Linked DNA regions of Homo sapiens: region 2 is linked to region 1. The links are contacts of gene promoters, found by promoter capture Hi-C in blood cells and fetal thymus (Javierre and others, 2016). All regions are on one chromosome and are shown on one strand. Each heading gives the region's core, a stretch centred on a gene start or on the middle of the fragment in contact. The rest is flanking DNA. Distances are from core to core; before and after follow the strand shown.

Region 1 (4,946 bases), core at 763-3,262:
GAAGTTAAAGGAAAAGCAAATAAATAAATAAATAAAACAGTAGGCAGAGGTCAAAAGACAATGCTCAACACCAGCCTGAAATAAGGCAAGTCTCTCACAGGAATACATTCGGGATTTTACTATCATTTAACTGAAGGACTATTTTGATTACCTGCTGATTCAACATTAACTAGACATTTATTAGAACACCTGCTTTGTGCCAGGCACAGTGGTAGGCCTGGAGGCTATAGTGGGAAAAATAAAACAGGTACTAATGAGTAGTTGGAATTTCTTAATGGAAAACAAGATCATTCTCCATTGCAACCACTCTATAGCTAGTGGAGGCTTTGAAGAGACTCTTAGAGAGGTTTCAGTTCAGATCTTTCCTGGGGCTCACTTTGGTACCGTCTTCAAGATTTCTCTTGGAAAGGGGCATTAACTCCTTATCCTATCTTAGATGCAATCATATTGAGTTTTTGCCCTTACCATATTCATCAGTTTACATTTCTGAATATACTCATAAAAGGTCTCCTGGTCAGGTCTTATCTCCACTCACTAAAGATTCTCTTAACATCCAGAAATCTATCTCCAGACACCCTTTTATGTGCTCTTTCTAGAATGACAATATAAATGAGTTGGTACAAGAAATGTGAAAAAGAGAGATTGGAAATCTATTGAAATTTGCTAGTCATTAGTGCAGAAGGCTTTATTCACTTCCACATATTTTCTGCATTTAGGATCACCTGAACTTTATCACTTTTGCTGGTAGCAGAACAATTAAGCTGAATAGGACACTTAATTCTAAGAAAGTTCTAAAGAAATCTTTAAAATTTTTAAGACTATCCCTCTCACTATCCTTTAGGCTGAAAGTCTGTCCAAATGTCTTTTGGCACTTATGTGGAATATGATGAATTCCTTTCGCTGGATGTATCTCAGGATAGCATTAATTTGGTGTGATCGGGAGGTGAATTTCTTTAGGATCTTTTTCACTGTTCATGTGCTGTTTTGCAGTTCCTTTGGAGTAGTGGGGGCTTAAGGGGGCTTAGCTTTCATAAACTTTTGGTCTTGAGAATATATACCTGAGATGGGGTCGGTTTGGGAGCCTCCAATGCCTGTCAATTTGGGAACTCCAGAGTAGGATTTTATAAAAATAATCATCCATTCATAACTGTATTGAGTTACAAGGGAGGGCAAGAGAGTCATCCCAGGTCATAGTCATACAATGTAAATTTAGACCAAGGGATGAAACGTGTTGGAGAACACCCTGCAATAATCATTATTGGGTATCTGTGAATTTAACACACTTTTCAGAATGGGACAAGTTGCTTGCCACGGTAGGAAAAGCTGTGCCAAATGTTTGAGGAGAAATGTGGAGAGGAATAACATTAGCTTCAGATACCAAATTGCAAGTTAAACTTCCTGAGGATTTCCCGAACCCTGTTCAAATAAATTAAAATTTTGTTTACCAAAATGACTCCGATATGCAAATACAGAACACAGTGTTATATAGGTGCTAGGGACTGAAATTTTTTACAATCATATAATTTATTGTAATACTTAATATTATGATAAGACCGTTAATTTATCATATTTTCCCTGTAGTGTTTACTCACATGGACGGGGATAGATCCAGATTTCATGAAGTCTGAAGGTTACCTAATTTTGGAGGCTATTCTTAATAAAAAGAATGCACACTTTTGAATATCAACACTGGTCCCTTACAAAGGACCCATGCAGATGAAGAGCCCTGAAAGCTGAGTTTCATTGATTCCGGGTGAAACTACCTCTGGATGTGGAGCTGTGTTATGGGAATACCGCATCACAGTCAGGACCCAGCTCTGCTGCCGCCTCAGTAGGAGGCAAAGGTGGAAACGTGGAAACTATGGTTATAAGGTTCATACTTTACTGACCATCATTGAAGCTGCTTGTTGGGTCCCTTAGGAAGGGATCTCTCAATGAAACAAACATTAGAGCTTCTTATTTTTTTTTGAGACAGTGTCTAACTCTGTCACCCAGGCTGGAGTGCAGTGGCACCATCTTGGCTCACTACAACCTCTGCTTCCTGGATTCAGGTGATTCTCCTACCTCAGCCTTCTAAGTAGCTAGGATTACAAGGCATGTGCTACCATACCGAGCTAATTTTTGTATTTTTAGTAGAGACAGGGTTTTGCCATATTGGCCAGGCTGATCTTGAACTGCTGACCTCAAGTGATCCACCCTTATGACCAGCAGACCCTGATCTAAGAAGCTAGATGATTCCTCATGAGGTCACTTATAAACCTTATTGCTGATGTATTTCAGTTTATTTATTGGACTATCTTAGATTTTAAACACCCCACCCAATGCCACCATCTATGTAGCAACTAGAGCAGGACTCACAAATAAAATAACCTTCAAGGCCAAACAGCTTCCAATAGCCAGATTTGTCAAGATTAACTTAAGGTTTTAAAATTAGGCAATGCTTGTAGACACAAACCACTGTGGGCACCATAAAATATCACCTTATTTCAAAAGACTGAGAAAACTGAAAATGACCTGAAAAATTCCTATTGAGTGATCTATTTAATCACTCAGGTGGGGTATGGTGTATCTGGTGCATGTTCAACCTCAGGTGCAGGTGCATGTGCATGCAAATATACACGCGCCACGCTTTTAACCATGCATCTCTCTTTGAAAAGATCATTCCTTCTTTCTTATCTATATGTGAACAAATTGTCAAAACAACCTCAAATGCTAGATGATATAATCCCCAAATGCTAGTAATATAAAAATGACTGTAATAATACAAGTGATATCATTGCTATACATAGCACCACACTTTTACTGTTTCTCAAATCTACAACTATCCTATTTTCTAGTGTTTGTTTATTTCTTTATTCACTGAAATGACTGATATGGGCAGTTTAGACACCCAGAGGAGGAGATAATGGTTTTGATTGTGCTAGATGGTTTGACTCTGCTGAGTGTATCCTATAGACTTAATACCAACAGAGGTCATGGATATTTTTTTCCCACTTCTTTTCCTCTTTATTGTTAAGGAGACTAATTGTGTGTGAGTGTATGACAGGAAATGTTTTGATTTTTTTGTAGTGGCAAGAACAGGAGGGCATTCTTTTAAACATCTTTTCATTTTCTAGGCAAAGCGTGGGAATGGAGGATGAGAGATAGTCAATTTTCAGAATAAGATGTTCTACCAAGATGTAAAGAGGGGAAAAAAAGTAACTTTCAACAGCTAGGCAAGAACTGCCACAAGCAGTAGTCGAAAAAATCAACGGCATGGTTTCCTAATGTGGTCTTGGATTCAGCAAGAAAATACTACAGAGAGAAAACTGCAGGAGTCCCTATTTTGTCCCCTCAAAATGAATTAAATGGTCTAGTGGAAGCTGAAGGACTCTGAAGATGGTGAGTCTACCACTGATTCTTCAGATGGTGTCAAAGATGATTCCTGGTTAGGTATAAAAAGCAGCACTTTTAGTCTGCTATTCATACATTAAAAATGACAGAGAATATACACCTAGAATATTTACCTAGTACTGCTGCCTTGGAAACATGGTTCTAGGTCTCAGGAGTTTCCCAACAAGGAGTCTTTGTGCTCTTGAGACCTCAACAATGTACTGAGCTGACTACCTCAGCAATATTCTATCTAAACTAACACCCAGGTATAGTGATCAATGGTCTAACCAGCTTGCAAGTTATGGCTGAAATAGTGGTTTACCTATCAAATCCATGTAACTCCCAGAATAATTATGATTCTATCTTTTGGGCTGGCAATTATTTAAATAAAATATTATTTACAAAGGAAACAGCAGGGAGAAGAATCATGTAAATTAGATTCATTAAGTGGACAGATTCACTTACAGTTCATTTTGGAATAATTTATGCCAGTTTTCTCTGATGTCATCTGTTGTTCAGGTTAACAATTAGCTCATTATTAACTGACAAAGGTTACTTTGTGTATTGGCAGAGGAAGGCATATTATTTGGGAAAGCTTCTATGACTACCGAGCTTTCATATGGGTGCAAGAGTTTATTTGCAAAAATCCAGCTCTTATTTTCTCAAACAATTCAATATCCTGATGCATATATCTCTGTATTCTCAGGAGGCTTTGCAGAGGAATATATTTCTCTTTGCTAGTGTATAAGCAGTCAAGACTAAAAGAGAATAGGGCAAAATATTCATTCCAACTCTGTATTACTCTCTGCTTTGAACTAAAGATAATATTTTCTAATATATTAAGAGACACCTCTTTTACAGGCCAAGTTACAGATCTCTTAAAAAATCCAATATGATGATGCCCATTTACAAAATTTTATGATGAGAAAATTAACTTTAAAACTCTTTTACAACTCTACCAAATGTAAGAAATATATGTCCCTAAGAAGGTAAGGCATTAGTCCATTTGGACCTTTTGAAATTCTTTGCTGTTGCTTGCAGTCTTTTATCTGTCTCAGCTGTGTGTAGTTTAGTGACTCTGACCTTGAGGAGGTAACAGAAATGGTGCCTACCATTAATGTGGTTTTTCTTTTAAAAAACAAAATGTTTCCTGGCATGTAATTGTTTTTTTCAAAAAAGACTTGACCCTGTGCAGTATTTTACACTTACATCATTTCCCCATTTATAATTCTTTCTTGTTTTGGTGTGTTGGAGGGAAAAAAAGTGTTATGTAGTTCTTTAAAAACTTTCAACCAAATAATAATAAACAATCGTAAGATTCTGAAGTATTTATCATGAATGTAAACTCTGAGAGCAGTAAAACTGGTAAAAGATGATTTCCATAATAACTGGATGAGGGAGGACCCAGGAAAAATCTTGAGCTTTTTGCTTGCATAACAGAATGAAGGAAATGCTGAACATGGATTAGGTTTGGAAGATAACTCCTGAGTTTGGTTTTGGATATAATGACTGTGTCTTTGAGTCATACAAGAGGAAATATCAAATAAGTTCCATCTATATGACTGAAGTATAAA
Region 2 (4,946 bases), core at 1,575-4,074, 180 kb after region 1:
AAGAGAGAAAGGTTAATAGAAAGAAGAGACAGGGTCTGCTAAGTATCTCATTAGGCCCACTGCCTGCCTCCCATTACATGCACCTCCTGATTCTCATTAGGCCTTCGTGATTTCATTTGGGTCCCAGGTCATTGCTTATTTTCATATGGGGACTATATAACAGGGTCTCTTCCAGTCCCAGAATCCCATGGGGAGAAAAAGAGAAAATGTCAATAATTAATGAGCTGTCAGGGAGAGAGAGCTTTAGCACCTCCAGAATCATATAAAAATTCCTAGTCCATTTGTCTTGGGAGTGACTAACAAAAGGCCAGCATTGAACTTTTTCGAATGAATTATTATTATTGTTATTATTTTTACAAAACAATGCTTAGCTTTGCTTTCAAAGTGTATGATTTTATAAGGCAGGAAGAAATCAACTTGTACATTGAAATGAAAAATCTGTATAGAAATAGCTTTTTGTCTTTTACAATACTCCAAGACCCTGAAGAACTTCATATTTTTGTTAATTTCAGAAAAAATCAATAAGTAAAAACAATTATATAATTAGTTTTATCAAAACTCCAAGCTAATCATAGTAATCACTCCTCCTCATAACTTGTACCTGTTAAGATCTCTTATACTTAGTGTTAAGTCATATAAAGAAAGTGTTGAGGTGGGAAGACACAGCGTGAATCCCAGCTCTTCGGTTGCATGCTGTGTGAACTTGTGAACTTGAAGTCCCAACGTCATTTTATGTAAAATTGGAGAATTTAATACCTACTGTGCAAACTTGTTATATACTTCCCTTTCTGGCAAACATGAAAGGATCGATGAAGGGTAATCATTATCATTATATTTTTCCATAATCCTCTTAATGTCCAGCCCATAGGGATTCCCAATTAATAATTGTTGGAAGACAATAAATCATGACAACATTGTGAATATTCTCTATACCTAAGGTAAGTAAGCAATAAAAATGTAATAAAATACTGATGGTAAATATATTTATTTTTAATTCCGCCATATAAGCTATATAAAACGAAGAAAGATTTGAATATAAATGTCTCTTCCACCTAAGTCAAACAATGATATCTAATGGTACTGTTATTTTCTGACATGCTGAAAGAACAGGATTCTGTGGTCCTTTCTGAATGTAGACTTTAATGCCTTAGCAGGTCAGATAGAAGACTGAGAAAGGAAGACCAGAATGTAGAAGGAAGATCAAGAAAGGGCTGGGTGTTTCAGAGAAACCAAGTGAAGAGAGGGGTTTTGAAGAATGCTCCTATTATCTACAATGAAAAATGCTACACTGAAGATAGAAAAAAAAAAAACTAAGAGAGATCTAACAGCCTGAAGAAACAAATATGGGGGTGGGGGATGGAAAGGATGACCCAACTCACTGAGATCCAAGACCCTGCTGAGATAGAAGAGGAGAGGGATAGAGGCTGAACTGAGATGGGAGATCAAGATTAATAGACTTCTTATCCAACTGATGGCCTCAGTTGTCTCTGTCAAGCTGAGGGCAAGATGGTCAGTGAATATGGCCAGGGAGAGATGAGAATAGAGAATATGCAGAGAGAGAAACAGATCAGCTTTAATAAACAGAGAAGATCGTGCCGTGACTACATTTTCTTTTTTATAGGTCAATGGCCATTTTGAAAATGTTTGACAGTACTAAAATCAGCTTATGCATATTTTTTTGAAATAAGGCCCTATAATTTAATCTACACTAAATCATTCAGACTTTCCAGAGCCCCTATCATTATGACTAATTTGTTTAGTTAGATTTCTTAAGAGTATACATCTCTATCAAGATGAAGCTATGATTTGAATATGGTTTGTCCCCACTAAAACTTATGTTGAGACTTGGTTCCCAGTGAGACAGTGTTGAAAGGTAGTGACTTTACGAAGTGATTAAAATGGATTAATGTCTATTTTTCAAGATTGGGTTAGTTCTCATGAGAATACGTTGTAATAAAGTGAGCCTGCCTCTCCTGTTTTGCTTCTTTGTACATGTCTATTTCTCCTTCTGCTTTTCTGCCATGTTACGATGCCATAGCATGAAGCCCACATCAGAAGCTAGCCAAAGATGACTGCCTGATCTTGGCCCTCCCAGCCTCTAGAATCATGAGCTAAAAAAGTCTTTCCCTTATAAATTATTCAGTCTCAAGTATTCTGTTATTGCAATGAAAAATAGACTAAGACAATGAACAAAACATATTGAATGCTATATAGATGTCAAAAGAAATAGCGAGCCTAGGCAAAATATGGGTTACCTATGTAAAAAATGCTAACCAAAGGAGGATGAAGTTAATTTAAGAACTAGTTCTTATCTTTTTTAGACTTATGTTAAATGTTATTTCTCTTTTTAAAATAAATTATCATTTAAATTAATACAGATCAACTATGAAAAGACCTCATTGTGAACAGTGAGGACAAAGCTTCTGTAAGCATTGATTATATGCCAAATGATATCCCTGTGTGAGGTAGATTCTATCTGATCCATTTTGTAGATGAAGCCTCTGTGGCTTAGGAAAGTTAAGTGACATATTCAAGATCACACAGCAACTAAGTGGCAAGTGTAGACTCTAATCTGGCTCTGTCAGCCTAGTGACTGATACTTTCTCTAGAAAGTGGAGGTAGCATATGAGTCTCATCTTCCCAATCATCCCACAAGCTGCCCTTCGCTCCATGTGTCTCCTGGGGAAGTATTTCATCATTTACTCTGGAAATAGCATTCAAATGTCATCACAACCTTGCAGCATATTTCTGAGTCTGTGAGTACCAAGGAACATGTTGTCCCTTTCAAACATGCCCCTTCACTTAGATAATGTCAGTGAGTTTTTGTGGAATCTGATTTAAATGTATGCGTAAACAGGAAAGAATGAAATAATCAAAATCCACAGGCTGTGAGAGAAGAAAAGTAAATGATATCTAGTTACATTTATTTGACCAATAATGACAAAAGAAAAAAGAGAAATTAAAATTAATGGGGAAATTCTTAGTTATAACTGTCAAGCAGACAGTGCAGGATACAAAATTGTACATATACAGTTTATTCTTGATAAATGAAATAGCTACAAAAGACTGGAAGGAAAAAAATGTCAAAATATTAGCAGTTACAGTGGTTGCCTTTAGGCAACAGAATTGTCCTTGAGTCTTATTACTCTGTTTTACATCTATGAATATACTATGCAGTAAAGTCATTTTTATAAACAGAAAGATATAACTAAATCAAAGCCATCATTGAAAGCTTTTGGCCAGTGGCTGTGATGTCTAGGTCTTTTAAATCCACAGGGGAAGCTAAACCCTCAAACCACAGTCACATCTTCTTGTTTGGGGAAGATAGTGGGCAAAGCAGATGCCTAGAAGCACCAAAAGGAAGTCTGGAGGGTTTGTTTTCTCCTTCCAAAGAAGGGAGCCATCTGCGTCTCTGCACATGGAAGTTTCAATTCATGTGTGTCACAGCCATGAGGACATGAATGGCTGCCCAGGAATGCTTAGGGGCAGGCTGCTCTGTGGGCATTTGGTAACACAAGAAAAGAGGTGGTAATAGCCCAGCAATTCCAGCTATTTTTAATGCAACTCCAAGCTAATATACTTACTTCCTACATTTTAGCATCTATGCCAGGTTTAAAGAAACAGACCTGCCCCTAATTTAAGAGAAGAAAGGCCCCCTCCTGTCCCCCAAATTGTCCCTGCCATCATCCTTCACAGTGCTGCTGCATCCTGCCTCCTCACAGCAGAGCTCACCTCGAGCAACCAATTCCATTTTAAGGAGACAGAGAACAATTTATTCAACTTCAATTTGCTGAGAGGAAAAACCTCCTATTCTCTAATATTAATTCTTGAAGCCGATTCAAAAACAATTTTTGTTCCTTGCCAGGGTTTGAGGCTTTGAAAGATATTAATGTAGACAGTCTTTGAAATATTAGGAGTTTGCAGCCATTGTGAGGATCCTGAAGTTAGCAAGCATAAAAGGAAGTCTTAGGGCAAAGTATATGTTATTCTGTGTGTTGAAATATATATCAAGCTTCTTGTGGGGTAAGGGGCTTGGGCACCCCTGGGGAACTGTGGACTATATATAGATAAGTGTGACATTCGTTTAAAGCCGATCTGCCCTGTGAGAATGATTAGGTTTACTGGAGAGCTCTATTCTTATTTTAAAGTAAGTTTTTTACATCTCTAGTTCTGAAACACCCTCTATGCAGTTTTAGACATATACGACTTGTCTAATCCACAAGCCTATAGAGAATAGTGATGAGATGATAGCACATTTCGGTGCCTGCATTTCTCTCTCAAAGATTCAATATTTTCATTTTAGCTTTTTATTTTTACCATTTTTCACAGATAGCATGTAATGTATCTCCACTGTTCTTCTTCAAGCTTTACGGTAAGATTCATAAACTTCAGCATTTTAACTGAACACATCAGTCATATTGAAGCACAGTACCTCTAATATGGTTAAAGTGTTTTATTGACACGTGACAAAACTTGACAACTTGTGTTTTTTATTATTAGAATTTTCTAATGGTTCAGGAGAGTAAAAATTAGATAACAGTAGCACAAGGTTGAAGGAACTTCATTAGGTTGAGTTTGTTTTTTCACTTACTTGACTAGTTGTCTTTGTGCCACATAGTATGTGCTTAGTGGCATTGTGTCAAAATTTGTCAGGTCTCATACAATGAAGATATTCCTATAGATTCCCTGCTTCAGTCCATCTTATATTTTATCTTTCTAAAACACAGATGTGCTCATGCCATTGCTTGTAAATCTTGGTTGGTTCCTTCCTGTCTACCGAAGGAAAGCCAAACTGCTTAGCACCACATTCAAGACTCAAGACTCTTCAAGACTTAGCAATAGGTCCACATCCCTCCCAATGTTTAACCCTTCTTCCCTCAGTGCCTCAGCAGTGGGGCACAACCAAAGGGCTATGAGGACCACAGAGAAGACTGCTTTGCAGGAAG

What was found. The method cuts DNA at HindIII sites, captures the fragments that hold promoters and counts their contacts. A CHiCAGO score of 5 or more calls a contact.
Region 2: a fragment that was not itself captured here is called in contact with the fragment with the promoter of SLC9A9-AS1 in region 1 in 2 of 17 cell types (M1 macrophages and M0 macrophages); the score reaches 5.3 in M1 macrophages.

What each region holds. Positions count from the first base shown.
Region 1 is chr3:143,340,234-143,345,179 of GRCh38, forward strand. SLC9A9-AS1 (SLC9A9 antisense RNA 1) reads left to right here and starts at 2,013. Exons shown (of 4, transcript NR_048544.1): 1 at 2,013-2,051; 2 at 3,117-3,381; 3 at 4,234-4,361. All of the region lies in intron 14 of SLC9A9 (solute carrier family 9 member A9), which reads right to left. The HindIII fragment of the contact is 6,948 bases long and covers 1-3,965 here.
Region 2 is chr3:143,522,883-143,527,828 of GRCh38, forward strand. The region is part of intron 9 of SLC9A9 (solute carrier family 9 member A9); the gene reads right to left. Among named protein-coding and RNA genes, the nearest start is that of SLC9A9-AS1, 180 kb to the left of the region's middle. The HindIII fragment of the contact is 812 bases long and covers 2,419-3,230 here.